Linked DNA regions of Homo sapiens: regions 2 and 3 are each linked to region 1. Evidence: promoter capture Hi-C in human tissues and cell types (Jung and others, 2019). All regions are on one chromosome and are shown on one strand. The core of a region is centred on a gene start or on the middle of the fragment in contact, and the rest is flanking DNA. Distances in the headings are between cores, read along the strand shown.

Region 1 (4,866 bases), core at 1,200-3,699:
TGACCACAGTCCAGAGGAAAACAGCGGGCCTGGGGAGAGGCTGCTCCTGGGGAGGACCTACTCAGAGGCTGATTCTTCCTCGTGCTACCCCACCCAGGGAGATGCAGGAAGCTGGTGAGGTCAGTGGGTGGGCCCACAACCATGCTGGAGAGGAGCAGGAGGGAGACGGGAGGGCACAGAGAGGTAGAGGGCAGGGACTCTGAGGACCCTCATCCATGCCCACCTGGACAATTGAATCGAGCTTCCTCTAGTGTGGAATGTGGGCTCACTGGGGCTATTTGCTATCCTTCTCTCATGTCAGACTGGATGCGGCCCAAGGGTGGGGTCTGTGACTCCCTCATCAGACTGAGGGGGGCCGAAATGTGGGGGTGGGGGAAGGAGGGAGCTTCCAAACAGGAAGGTTTGGAGGGCGCTGGCACTGAGGACAGGGGATACGCCCCCCATGAGTCTTCACCCCTGCTCAGAGCCTGCTGCCGTGGCCCTCAGAGACGAGCCCATCTTTGGAGCTGGAGTTGGGGACAGGGAAACCAGGTGGAAGGGAAAAAGAAAAAAGGGGCAGGCATGAGTGTGAGGGGCCAGACCCTGCAGACCCCAGGACATGCACAGCAGACACACACTCCAATCCCTCCTGGCTCTGCTCAGCCTCAAACGAGGTGCAGGCCTGCAGGCCCCAACCAAGGACCCCTGTTACACACAGACACAAAGACACAAGATGCAGCAACACACACACGTAATACAGAAACACAGTCACACACTAGCGCACACACAGACACAGTCAGACAATCCAAGAAACACACTCACACATGAACAGACATATAAGCAAAGTCTTACACATACAAAGACACACTTAAGCACAGACACAAACACACCAACAGATGCACAGACGGACACACATAGACGCACACTGGGAGGCGGCCTGTGGAGACTGCTGATTGGATACCATGTTGGCTTGGTATCCAGAATTGTTGGTGCAGCGCACTCACCATGCCTGACCTCATTAAGGAGGCCCTCTGGGGCAGTGGCTCTGAGAAGAAAGGCAGCAAGCCTAGGGAGGTGACACTGTAGCTGGGGAGCATTTTGGCTGGGCAGAGAGGAGGAAGGAGAGCATTTCAGGGAGGGAAAATAGCCCTTGCAAAGGTTTGGAGTGGAAGAGCAAAAGGGATGTCCCAAGAACTGTGCCTCATTTGATGGGGCTGTGGGGCCCTTCTCTGACGGGCAGCCTTCCCAGGCACAAAGGGAGGTGGACTGAGAAGCATCTGGAACTTCTGTGGGGGCACATGGGGCAGAGGGGAAGGGGAACAGGCAGAACGAGTCAGCTGCCTTTGAAAGCTCCACGAGGGACCTAGCAGAAATTCATTCATTCATCCGTTCATTCATTTATTTATGACAGGTTCTCTCTCTGTCACCCAAGCTGGAGTGCGGTGGTGTGATCACACTTACTGCAGCCTCAAACTCTTGGGCTCAAGCAATCCTCCACCCCAGCCTCCTGAGTACCTAGGACTACAGACGTGAGCTACTACACCTGGCTAATTTTTAAAACTTTTTAGAGACAGGGTCTCCCTTTGTTGCCCAGGCTGGTCTTTGTTGCCCAGCCAGCTTCAAGCCATCCTCCCACCTCAGACTCCCAAAGCGCTGGATTACAGGCATGAGCCACGGGTTCCCAGCCCAGAAAGAGACCTTCACCCCACAAACCCCCTGTCTGGAGGCCAAGTCCCAGCATCCCCAGAAGGGCCCCGGTTAGGACAAGAAAAAGGCTGTGTGCCTCGGAGGAGAGGCTGGGTGCCCCCTGGTGCGGAGTGGTCCCCTTGCCGGGCATGGGGCCTCAGTCTGTGAGACTCCGCGCCTCCGTCGTCTGAACTTGAGCAAAGACAGAGCTAGGCCTAGCCTGGGGACCCGAGGGCCTGCCCTCATCCGCAATTCTGCCTCTTTTCTGGCCACTGAGGACCGGGCTAGGGAAGCTGTAGGGGCAGTAGGGGTGGGAGGAGAGAGGGTTCCGGGTCAAGGGACTGGAGGGGTCTGGGGCAGGGAAGTGGAGGGGTCTAGGGCGGGCCCTTCCCCCTCCGCTGTTGGGCCCTCGCTGAAGGGGCCGAGGCTGAGCCCCAAGGTGGGCCTGTGGGGGCGGGGCGGGGGAGCCCCTCAGCAGCTGGACCGCAGGAGGCCGACCAGGGTCTGGAACTCCTCTTCCCCTCCCTCCGCCGCCCCCTCTCCCTTCTCCCACCCCCTGGGCTGCTAGGGGAGCGGGGGAGGCGCAGGAGGGGCTCAGGGAGGGGCCCTGGACGCGGGACCAGGCTGGGCCCCTCGGCGGAGGCCCGCGCAGGCAGGCCCCGCCCCGGCCTCGCACATCTGGGCCGGGAGCGCGGGCCGACCCGGCGGCGCAGGCGGCGCGGCCATCCGGCCTGGGGGAGGGGGCGGCGGGCGGGGTGGGCGGCGCGAGGAGGCGGGAGGCCTCAGGGCCGGGCGCACGTCGAGGGCTGCGGCCGCCGCAGCGGGCACGGCCAACGAGCTGCGGGCCCGGGATCGCGGCGGCTGGACGGGGCTGGAGCTGTCGGGAGGGCGGAGGTGAGTTCTGGGGCGGGGGCTGCCGGGCGCCCCGAGTGGAGAAAGGCGAGGAGGTTTGCCGTCCCGGGCTGTCGGCTGAGACCCCACCAAAAACCTCCAGACTTTGTCTGGTGGGGACAGATCTGCAAGCCCCTCTCTGCAGCGTGGCTGCGGGCTCGGGAAGGCACTTGGGGCAGCGACCTTGGTCTCCCACCTGGGCTTCGGGGGACCACCTCCCCTGTCCCTCGCACAGCTGCTCAGAGGCTTAGGCTGGAGAAACTCCTGTGTCTTAGGGGCTGGCAGGACTGGTGTGGGCTGGGGCCTGCTCCAGGGAGCCAAACTGAGGGACCCGGTGCCTAGGTCTGAGGTGGAAACCTGGGAGTTGAGTGTATGTGTGTGTGTTGGGGGGTGCCTCAGGGGTCCCAGGCCCTGTGGTCCCGAAGCGCAACAGAGTACTGAGTGGCCCAGGTGCCAGGGTCTGAGGCTGGGACCTGGTCTTCCGGGCCAGCTTGAGGTCCAGGTGGGGTGGGGTCCAGGTTCCCGCTAGGGCAGTGGAGCCTATCTGTGAGGTTAGCGTGTGTTGATGAGAGAGACTGGAAGGGAGTGATCACGAAACTAGGGACCCTCCGGAGAGCAGACGCAGCGCAGGAATCCCAGGCCAGAGGGGTAATGGGGGGCTGTGGGCAGAGCATGGGAGGGGCTCTGTTGTTTGTGAACTGGCTGCTCCCATGATGAGGACCCAAGGGGGTGCGGCAGGATGTATGGAAAGCAAAGATGAGGACAGGGAGGGGCCATGGGAGGCCATTTCTGTCACTCCCTGCCCCAGCGCAGGATGGGGCAGCCACCTCACTCAGCCACACATGGTCCCATCTTCTTAAGGGCTCCTCTCCAGAACAGAGTGGGGCAGCCCTTTGGGTGCCGTTTCTGATCTGTGCTTTGGGCCCTGGTTGGCCCAGTCTGTGGCTTGGAAGAAACGCCTGTGGCCTCACTTAGCCCGCTGACGGAGTCCTGTTCCATTACAGGGCTGGCTGGGTGCTGAGCAGAGAGCAGCAGGCGGAAGAGGCAGGGTCCTAGTGAGGAGGGGAGCTGGAATGACCTGGGTGGGCTCTTTGTCTACACAGGCATCGTGTGGAGCCCTGAAACCCAGAACACTGCATTCCCATAGTGCTCCTGGGGACATGAGCGCCCAGCTGAAACACCCCACACAGGAAGAGATCCTCCGAGGATTCTGTCAGGCAAAGGGTTGGGCCCCTGCAAGGTGGCTCACGCCTGTAATCCCAGCACTTTGGGAGGATGAAGTGGGAGGATCGCTTGAGGCCAGGTGGTCGAGGCTGCAGTGAGCCGTGATCGTGCCACTGCACTCCAGCCTAGGCAACAGAGCAAGACCCTGTCTCAAAAAAAGGAGCGGGAGTGGGGGCAGGGTTCGTCCTAGGCTATTGTAAGACCAGGGGATACTCTGGGATGGGAGTCTCTGGTTGTGAGTTCCTGCTGGGCCACACCCTATCCTGGTCCCCAGTGACTAATCGGCCCTGCCTATTGGGTAGAAGTCAGGGCCAGGGGTCAGGGTGAAGCTGATGACTAGAGGTCAATATGAAGCCAAGAGTTAGGGGTCAGTCCATGGGCAGGGTTAGGGATCAGGCTGGGGCCAGAGTTTGGCATGTGCTTGTAGCCAGGAAATGGAGTTCCTTTCTGTGTAAATCAAACTGTCCCACTCAATTACTCTCAAACCCATAGGCACCACCAGTCTGAAATTAGTAGGCCCCTGAAGCGGGGCTCAGCCTCCCCTCATTTTCAGCTGTGGACTCTGCCCAGACCTAGCTTTCGGGAGCTGGGCTTGTCCCGTGTTCTGTGGTCAGCACTCTCCTTAAGTGTCCCTGGGTGTGTGTGCTCGCTTGGCAGTCAGCCACCTCTTGGCTTACCTCCACCTCTCGGGGAATCCGTGGGATCCTCCTTCTTTAACACAATTTTTTTTTTTTTTTTTTTGGAGACAGGGTCTCACTCTGTCACCCAGGCTGGAGTGCAGTGGTGTGATCATGACTTACTGCAGCCTCAACCTTCCGGGCTCAAGCAATTCTCCCACCTCAGCGTCCAAAGTGGCTGGGACTCTAGGCATGCACTACCACGCTGGGCTAATATTTGTATTTTTCGTAGAGATGGGGTTTTGCTGTTGCCCAGGCTGGTCTCGAACTCCTGAGCTCAAGCAATCCACCCACTTTGACCTCCCAAAGTGCTAGAATTACAGGCATGAGCCACCACACCCAGCCCTTAACACAGATTGATTTAGTTCCTACCTCCTTCCTTAAAGAACTCATGATGACTAGAATGCGA
Region 2 (4,866 bases), core at 778-3,277, 450 kb after region 1:
GAGGGCGACCACAATCACGACACTGGGGAGGGTGGCCAGGGTGGAGAGGAGCCCCGGGGGGGCAGGTGGGATGAGGATGAGCAGTGGTCGGTGGTGGTGGAGTGCGAGGACTGTGAGCTGATCCCGGCGGACCATGTGATTGTGACCGTGTCGCTAGGTGTGCTAAAGAGGCAGTACACCAGTTTCTTCCGGCCAGGCCTGCCCACAGAGAAGGTGGCTGCCATCCACCGCCTGGGCATTGGCACCACCGACAAGATCTTTCTGGAATTCGAGGAGCCCTTCTGGGGCCCTGAGTGCAACAGCCTACAGTTTGTGTGGGAGGACGAAGCAGAGAGCCACACCCTCACCTACCCACCTGAGCTCTGGTACCGCAAGATCTGCGGCTTTGATGTCCTCTACCCGCCTGAGCGCTACGGCCATGTGCTGAGCGGCTGGATCTGCGGGGAGGAGGCCCTCGTCATGGAGAAGTGTGATGACGAGGCAGTGGCCGAGATCTGCACGGAGATGCTGCGTCAGTTCACAGGTGCGCCACGTGCCCCACGACCCGCTTCCCCCACCCTGCTTCTTCCTCACCTGCCCTCCTCTGGTGGACCCATGGCAGCTCTCTCCTCCCCAGACCGTGAAGCTCGGATGCTGTGCCCCACGGGAGAGCCACTGCAGGGTGCCACATTCAGCCAAAGGCTCTTCAGTTGCTGACAGTTTAGAACTTGACACACTCAGAATTATGGGCGCTGTGTCTCTTCCCCCTTTCTAAAGGCTGATGGTAAAACACTCAGAGATCACCGCCCATTGTGCTCTGTTGCTAAGAGCTGGATTTGCCTTTTACTCTCTGAGTCTTTCAGCTCAACATTTTTCACCCACTATTCCAGGAGGACCTCACGAGAACCCCCGATATTAGGCGGGGAAACATGATTATGTGTCATGTGTTTTCAGATAGATAGGAAAAGTAAGGTGGAGCGTTTTGCCGGGGGTCACAGGAGGCGCTGAGTGGGTACACAGCTCGAGCCCCAGCCTCCCTCCTTCCTCTTCTATCCTCCGTGCCTACCCCTGGCAGTCTGGTCCTCCCGGAGCCCTGGAGGTGGGGTGGGGGGTTGTCCCTTTGGGGTCATCTTCCATATGCAGCCATTTCTTATCCTCCCTCCTCTTGGCTTTTCTGACTCTCCATCAGGGAACCCCAACATTCCAAAACCTCGGCGAATCTTGCGCTCGGCCTGGGGCAGCAACCCTTACTTCCGCGGCTCCTATTCATACACGCAGGTGGGCTCCAGCGGGGCGGATGTGGAGAAGCTGGCCAAGCCCCTGCCGTACACAGAGAGCTCAAAGACAGCGGTAAGCGGGGCGTTTGGGGTGAGGAGGGGAGTTGTGGGTGTATTTTGTATGTGTGTCCGGTCCAGGGTGAGGAGGGCTAGGGTAGTGTTCACTAAGGGGTGCTCAGGTGAGGCAGGGATGGAGTAGCTTCTGTAATGAGAGAGAACACAAGGAAAAAAGTGTGCACTTAATATCTGGAAGAAAAAATGGAATCAAATTGAAACTTAAAATGTTTTCTTGATGTTATGAAAACTGAGCTATTCCATGCTGTGCTGGCCAATACGGTAGCTATCAGCCACTTTCAATTTAAATTAATTTATTAAAAATTTAAATTAATACAGTATTTTTTTTTTCTTTTTTGAGACAGGGTCTTGCTCTGTCTACACTTCAGGCTGGGGTATAGTGGTGTGATCACAGCTCACTGCAGCCTTGACCTCCTGGGCTCAAGTGATCCTCCCACCTCAGCCTCCCAACTAGCTGGGACCACAGGCATGCCGGCACGCCACCATGTCCAGCTAATTTTTGTACTTTTTTTTTTTTTTTGGTAGAGATGGGGTTTCATCATACTGCTAGGCTGGTCTTGAACTCTTGGGCTCAAGCTGTCCTCCCGCCTCAACCTCCTGAAGTGCTAGGATTATAGGAATGAGCCACCACACTTGGCCAATACAGTAAAGTTTTTGTTCCTTGGTTGCACTAGTCACATTTCAAGTTCAACAGCCACATGTGGCTAGAGGTTACCATAGTAAAGTACATAGCGATAGGAATGTCCTATTGGACAGCACTGATTCAATGGAAATGTTTTCCCAATATATTTCAGAAAATAAAGTTTAGATTACTGATGCTCCACAATATGCCAACTGTACACTAAAAAAAAAAAATCTGAAATATATATTTATGCTCCCATAAAGTGGATTTTGAGTTTCCCCCATCAAGTAGACACACACAGTAAATGTTAAAACTCAACAGTTATATTTAAAACAATTATTTGGTATAATTGGTGAAGAAGAGTTCAGTCAACCAGCATCTACTATGCCTGCCCAACGGTGCTCAGATGGAGAGAGAAAAGGGCTGGTGTTTAAAGAGAGAGAGGTCCTCAGAAAGGCCCTTTCTGCTGCCACAGCCATCCTCCTAAAAAGCAAATCTTCTCTTTTCACTTGCATCAGTTAGGACTAGTGCATGTAGCAAAAAGCAAAGCAAAGCAAACACAACTGTGACTTAAACAAGGAAAATCAAAAGGAAATCTGGAGGCAGGCAGCAGGATCCCGTATCATTAGCACCTGGCTCTCATCTTCAAGACCATCTTGTGGTCCAAGAGGGCTGCAGAAGCTCCAGTTCTCACATCTGCATCTTAGGCTAGAAGGAAGAGGAAAGGCAGATGGCAAGAAGGGAACCCTTGGAGCTGAGTCAGCTGTGTCTCTAAGCAACAGTGCACTTTAATGCTTATTGGCCAGAACATAGACACATGACTGCACCTAGCTGCTACAGAGGCTGGGCAGTATCATTTTTATTCTGGATGGCAATGGACCCAGTTAAAAATCAGGACTTTGTTATTGAGGAGAAAGAGGAGAATGGTTGGATGTGGGAGTGGTCCCAGCTACTTGGGAGGCTGAGGTGGGAGGATCACTTGAGCCCAGGAGGTCAAGGCTGACACAGTATACAACACCCCTTTCAGTGTAACAGCCTCTGTGGGCTCCTTGGTGGTGGGATTACAGCCTCACTACTCAGGGTAGGTAGATCAGTACCAGCCTCACCTGGGAGCTAGTTAGAAATGCAGATTCTCAGCCTGGCCAACATGGCGAAACCCTGTCTCTACTAAAAATACAAAATTAGCCAGGCATGGTGGTGCACACCTGTAGTTCTAGCTACTTGGGAGGCTGAGGCATGAGAATTGCTTGAAGCTGGGAGGCGGAGGTTGCAGTGAGTTGAGATCATGCCATTGCACTCCAGCCTGGGTGACAGAGCGAGACCCTGTCTCAAAACAAAAACCAAAAAACAACAACCCCTGGCGCCCTAAACACACACACACACAAATAAATAAATAAATAAAAAGAAATGCAGATTCTCAGCCTGGCCAACATGGCGAAACCCTGTCTCTACTAAAAATACAAAATTAGCCAGGCATGGTGGTGCACACCTGTAGTTCTAGCTACTTGGGAGGCTGAGGCATGAGAATTGCTTGAAGCTGGGAGGCGGAGGTTGCAGTGAGTTGAGATCATGCCATTGCACTCCAGCCTGGGTGACAGAGCGAGACCCTGTCTCAAAACAAAAACCAAAAAACAACAACCCCTGGCGCCCTAAACACACACACACACAAATAAATAAATAAATAAAAAGAAATGCAGACTCTCAGCCCACCCCAGACCTGCTGGATTAAAAACTGCATTCTGGCCAGGGATGCAGGCTCCTGCCCATAATCCCAGCACTATGGGAGGCCGAAGTGGGAGGATGGCTTGAGCTCAGGAGTTCAAGACCAGCCTGGGCAACAAAGTAAGACCTCCATCTCAACAAAAAATTTAAAAAAAAATTAGCCAGGTGTGGTGGTGTGTGCCTGTAGTCCCAACTACTTAGGAGGCTTAGATGGGAGGATTGCTTGAGCCCAGGAAGTTGAGGCTGCAGTGGAGCTGTGATCATGTTACTGCACTCCAACTGGGGCAATAGAGTGAGACACTGTCTCAAAAATAATAAATAAAAACTGCATTTTATCAGGATCCACAGCTGGTGCCTTGCACCTTGAATTTGAGAGGAACTAGGATAAAGTCCAAATGCAAACTTGGGGTGCAAGAACTTGTACCTTGCCTAGACCTCACCTAGACAGCCTGCTTTCTCAAGGCCGAGCCCTGGCTGTACCAAAATTCTCACTGTCCCCCGAGCAAGGCCTGCTTTGGTACATTTTTGCCCCCACCTTTCCCTCTGTCTGAAATGTCCTTTGCCTGTCCGTTCACTCAGCATCTTCCGAGAACCAGTTCAAAGGTCCTGTCCTCTGGGAAGCTTTGTGGGATCCCCTGACACTGGGCCTCTTTTCTGGGCTTTCGGCGCCTTGTGCAAACACCCATTCCATCACATATGACGCTGTTTAGTAATTGGGTTTCATGTCTGGCTTCCTCACCAGCATGGAAGCTCCACAAAGCAGCAGCCTGGTCACCTTTTCTCTTCCAAGTGCCCAGAACAGCCCCTGGATGCTAACAGGGGCGCCGTAAAGGTTTGTCAAATTACCACCGACTTTATTGAGTGCTTTGTTCTTCCAGGTTCTAAGTGCTTTAGATACATGATTTCCCTTAATCCTTACAACCACCCTCCGAAGTAGGTGGTATAAACCCATTTGGAAGATGAGAAAAGCAAGGCTTAGGGAGGTTAAACCACCTGCCTCAAGTTGACAAGTAAGAGGCACAAAGAGCCTTTGAGACCACAGAGCCGGGACTCCTAATGGCCTCAAGACAGAAAGAGCCAAGGGAAGAAGCAGGGGAAAGTGGCCAGATAGGATGGGCAGCTCTTCATCCTGTGGAAGCAGCAGCACCTGCGTCTCAGAGCCTCTCTAATTTGTCATTGGGATGGGAGGTT
Region 3 (4,866 bases), core at 1,037-3,536, 350 kb after region 1:
ATAGTAGATGCTAAATAAATACTGGTTAAATAAATGAAGGATTGCAATGGGTTTGGGGGAAGTCTGAGGCCAGGGTTAGGGGTCACACCAAGGTCAGGTTTTTAAAGTATAGGATCCCATTTTTGGTACTGAAACGTGGTTGGGGTATTTAGGGGTCTGCCTATTGGGACAAAGGTTTCTTGGAGGACATCGCACACCTCTCAACCTGAGGACTCCTTATGGGCTCAGGGGAGCAGCTACTGGCTGAGATTTTTAAAGCAGGGTCTCAGTCAGTGAAAGCCTGGCTTGCTTTCCCTGAAGAGAGCTATGCGCGTGCCTGGCCATGGGGCTCACAGCTGCCCCCTGGTGGTCAGCCACAGCCCCCTGCCAACCCTTGGGCGTGGTATTTTTCCAGCCTTAAGTCAGGCAGCAACGGCACATCCTAACGCAGGGTCCGTCTGGTTCCCGGGCCCCAGGTGGCGAGGGAACAGGAATGAGGGCTCTCCGGCACTCTCCGCTTTGCCCTTGGCCTCCTTTTTTCATCAGGGAAGACTCAGGGGAGGGCCTGCGCTGTGCCTCTCTTCAGCATCTGTGAAGATTCTGCCAGCTCCCCAGCCCCGTGCTCTCCGAGGGCATTTTTGTGCACGCAGGGCAGATTCCGGATTCCAAGAACATCAGTCATGGAATGACCTCTCTCCGGCCCCTTGGTGTGACCTCACTGTCTTGCCTCCTCCACCTGCACGTTCTTTGCCAGCCTGTAGGTCCTATCGTGGGGACTCCTCCCTGACCTCTGCCAATTTGAAGTGGGAACTCAGATGAGTGCCTCTGACTTTTTTTTTTTTTTTTTTTGAGACGGAGTCTCGCTCTGTCGCCCAGGCTGGAGTGCAGTGGCGCGATCTCGGCTCACTGCAAGCTCCGCCTCCTGGGTTCACGCCATTCTCCTGCCTCAGTCTCCCGAGTAGCTGGGACTACAGGCGCCCGCCACCACGCCCGGCTAATTTTTTTGTATTTTTAGTAGATACAGGGTTTCACCGTGTTAACCAGGATGGTTTTGATCTCCTGACCTCGTGATCCGCCCGCCTCGGCCTCCCAAAGTGCTGGGATTACAGGCGTGAGCCACCGCGCCCGACCGAGTGCCTCTGACTCTCACAAGGGCTCGTGTCTTCAGTTCCAGGCAGGCCCTGGAAGGGCATGGGGCAACATCTGGGGCGCCCCCACGGCTGCCTCTCTCTCCCCCCACGGCCCTGTGCCCCTCAGCAAAGCTTCTTCAGAACAGCTCTTTGGACAGCAGCTCTCAGGGCATCTGTAGCTGGTGCCAGCCTACACCCCCCATGCAGCTATCATGGACAGCGAGGGCATAGGCTCTGGCCATAGGACCCCACAACCAGCACCACCATGTTCTGAGTTAATGGTGGGAATTTATCTCCCAGCATGATCTGACATGGTCTGACAGCAAGCCCATGACATTCTGCCTCCATGGTGTGGACACCTGAGGCAGATGGGTTGTATGTGGGTGGGGAGATAGCCCCTTTCATCGCAGGCAGGAGGAACATGCTTAGGGTACTACGCTGTAGGGTCAGGTCTTTATGCTTCTCATCATGCAGAGCAGGCTTAGGGGCTGTGTCTGCAGCCCCTCCCTGATTCCCAGGGATGAAGAGATGGGGTAGGCTCTCCGCAGCTCTGGGGAAGTTTTATTCCCTCTTCTCCCCCTCTCTCTGCACTTCCTTCCCTCTCTTGTGTTCCATCTTAGTCCATTTCTGCTGCTATAACTGAATACCACAGACTGGGTAAGTTATAAAGAAAATAATGTATTTGGCTCACGGTTCTGGAAGCTGGCAAGGCCAAGAGCATGACGCTGGTGTCTGACTGATGAAGACTTCATGCTGCTTTATCCCATGGTGGAAGATATCACATGGTGAGGAAGCACATGTGTGAGACAGAAAGAAAACTGGCCAAACTCATCCTTTTATCAGGAAACCACTCCTGGGATAACTAACCCATTTGACTGATAACGGCATTCACCAACCTTTTAAAGGCCCCACCTCTCAACCCTGCTACAATGGGAGTTAAATTCCAACATGAGTTTTGGAGGGGACATTCAAACCATAGCATGTCCCCACCTGATCCATGCGCATTCTTTGTAGACCAGTGGTCCCCAAACTTTTTGGCACCAGGGATTGGTTTTGAGGAAGACAATTTTTCCTCAGACGGGGTAGGGGGGAGGGGATGGTTTTGGGATGAAACTGTTCGACTTCAGATCATCAGGCATTAATCAGATTCTCATAAGGAGCGTGCAACCTAGATCCCTCACATGCGCAGTTTGCAGTAGGGTTCGTGCTTCTATGAGAACCTAATGCTGCTGCTGATCTGACAGGAGGCGGAGCTCAGGCGGTAATGCTCACTCACTTGCAGCTCACATCCTGCTGTGTGGCCCAGTTTCTAACAGGCCATGGATCAGTACTGCGGGAGCTGGAGACCCCTGCTGCAGAGGATCTGACTCTTTTTGGCCCTGGGAGGGAGTGGTTCACAAAAGAAAAAGAAAATTACAATAGTCCCCCACCTTATTGGCAATTTTGCATTCTGCGGTTTCAGTTAGATGCTGTCAATCACAGATTGAAAATATTGAATGGAAAAATTCCAGAAATAAATAATTCATGTTTTGGCCAGATGGGGTGGCTCACACCTGTAATCCCAGTACTTTGGTAGGCTGGGACGGGCAGATCACTTGAGGTCAGGAGTTTGAGACTAGCCTGGCCAACATTGTGAAACCCCTTCTCTACTAAAATACAAAAATTAGCTGGGCATGGTGGTGTGTGCCTGTAGTCCCAGCTACTTGGGAGGCTGAGGCAGGAGAATCGCTTGAACCTGGAAGGCAGAGGTTGCAGTGAGCCAAGATTGCACCCTTGCACTCCAGCCTGGGTGACAGAGTGAGACTCAGTCTCAAAAAAAAAAAAAAAAAGAAAAAGAAAAAGAAAAAGAAAACCAAAAAACAAAATGAGCAACTCCCATTTTAAATTGCCTGCCATGCTGAGTAGAGTGAATCATCCCTCTGTCCAGCACGTCCATGCTGCATATTCTTCCCGCTCATTAGTCACTTGGTAGCTGTCTTGGCTGTCAGATCAACTGCTGAGGTATCGCAGTGCTTATGTTCAGGTAACCCTTACTTCATTTAATAACGACCCCTGGATGCAAAAGTGGTGATGCTTAACATCATCACAACATAATTATTATTAACAATAATAACTGAGAATAAAATAGAACAGTTGTTATAATTGTTCTATTTTATTATCAGTTATTATTGTTAACCTCTTAACTGTGCTTAATTTATGCATTATACTTTATGGTGGATATGTACATATAGAAAAATCCATAGTATGTATAGGGTTTGGTACTATCTGCGGTTTCAGGCATCCACTGGGGGTCTTGAATGTATCCCCTGCAAATAAGGGGGGGGACTAGCGTTTCTGTCTTCACCAGGCCTAGATGTGTCTTGCCTGCCGAGGAAAGATGTATAGTTAAGATGTGACAATTATCTGTCAGTTGGTGGAGTTTCACCCACTTAGTTGGTCTTCTTACTGTATTTTGAGATATCTTTATTTACAGGAGGCAAAATAGAGGTCCTGGGTCAGTCCTCAGCCCTCCACCCCCAGCCTTTATGCCTAGGAGACTTTGAGTTGATGGGGAAAGATGGTTTCTGCCCTTGGGGGACCCACACAGGGTCCTTAGTATAGAGCCTGGCGCTCCACAGGGACCCGGTATTGAATATGGGATGGAGAGGAGCAAAGAGATCCTGCCAGGGAGGTTGTAGGAAGATCAATGGGTCACAGAAGCTACAGAAGGGCACACAGTAAGGCCGTGAGAGTGGGTAAAAAGGAGTGTGGGAGCTCTCACCTGCTCTGTGCTGGGATGTGGGTACTGGTCTCCTGGGAGTGAGCAGTTGGGCCCTCACCCAGTTGGAGGGCCCAACCACAACCACGGCAAATCCCAAAGGCCAGGAACAGGGACTAATGTGGGGTCCAGGGATAAAAGCAGATTTCTGAGATACAGAAAGCCCAGGGTCTGGCCTAAGGGGCAGCTGATATGCCCAAGAGCAAGTTCAAGGGCAGAGCAAGTTCGAGTGTACTGCAGACAGCCTTGGGACAGGGACATCCAATTTCATGGGCCAAGGAGAACAGTGGAAAGTCCAGGTAGTCAGGAGCCCTTGAAAGTCTAGAGGGTGGTGGGCTTGGTTGGGATGTGGATGGACATATATATATATGTATATACATATATACACACACACCATGGTGTGTGTCTGTGTGTGTATATATATATATGTGTATATATATATACACACACATACCTGATATGTTATACCTGACATATGTTATATACATACATACATATACATATATACACACACATATATATATCTGATGGTTTTATATATATAGGGAGGTGTGTGTTTGTGTGTGTGTGTGTATATATATATGTGTATATATATGTGTATATATATGTGTATATATATGTATATATATGTGTATATATATGTGTGTGTATATATGTATATATGTGTGTATATATGTATATATGTGTATATATGTATATATATGTGTATATATATGTGTATATATATGTATATATATGTGTGTATATATATGTATATATATGTGTGTATATATATGTGTATATATATGTGTGTGTGTGTGTGTGTGTGTGTATATATATATATATATATATATATCAGTTTGCCCTTGCTGGATAACAAACCACCCCAGAACTTACTGGCTTAATGCATTAACCATTTATTATTTCTCTAGGCTTTTGCAATCAGATGCTGGGTTGGCTGGAAGCTGGCTGGTATAGCGTGGCCATGCAGCAGGCTAGTCTAGGCTTAGTCACATAGTG

What was found. The method cuts DNA at HindIII sites, captures the fragments that hold promoters and counts their contacts. A contact is called where the count stands out against the background at its distance.
Region 2: a contact is called between a fragment that was not itself captured here and the fragment with the promoter of HSPA12B in region 1, in 1 of the 25 tissues and cell types used here (spleen).
Region 3: a contact is called between a fragment that was not itself captured here and the fragment with the promoter of HSPA12B in region 1, in 1 of the 25 tissues and cell types used here (lymphoblastoid cells).

What each region holds. Positions count from the first base shown.
Region 1 is chr20:3,730,236-3,735,101 of GRCh38, forward strand. HSPA12B (heat shock protein family A (Hsp70) member 12B) reads left to right here and starts at 2,450. Exons shown (of 13, transcript NM_052970.5): 1 at 2,450-2,559. RefSeq lists an enhancer at 2,512-3,091. The HindIII fragment of the contact is 12,948 bases long and covers 1-4,866 here.
Region 2 is chr20:4,182,326-4,187,191 of GRCh38, forward strand. SMOX (spermine oxidase) reads left to right here. Exons shown (of 7, transcript NM_175839.3): 5 at 1-523; 6 at 1,169-1,329. Among named protein-coding and RNA genes, the nearest start is that of LINC01433, 8.3 kb to the right of the region's middle. The HindIII fragment of the contact is 6,680 bases long and covers 1-4,866 here.
Region 3 is chr20:4,085,085-4,089,950 of GRCh38, forward strand. No RefSeq gene overlaps it. Among named protein-coding and RNA genes, the nearest start is that of SMOX, 61 kb to the right of the region's middle. The HindIII fragment of the contact is 4,410 bases long and covers 82-4,491 here.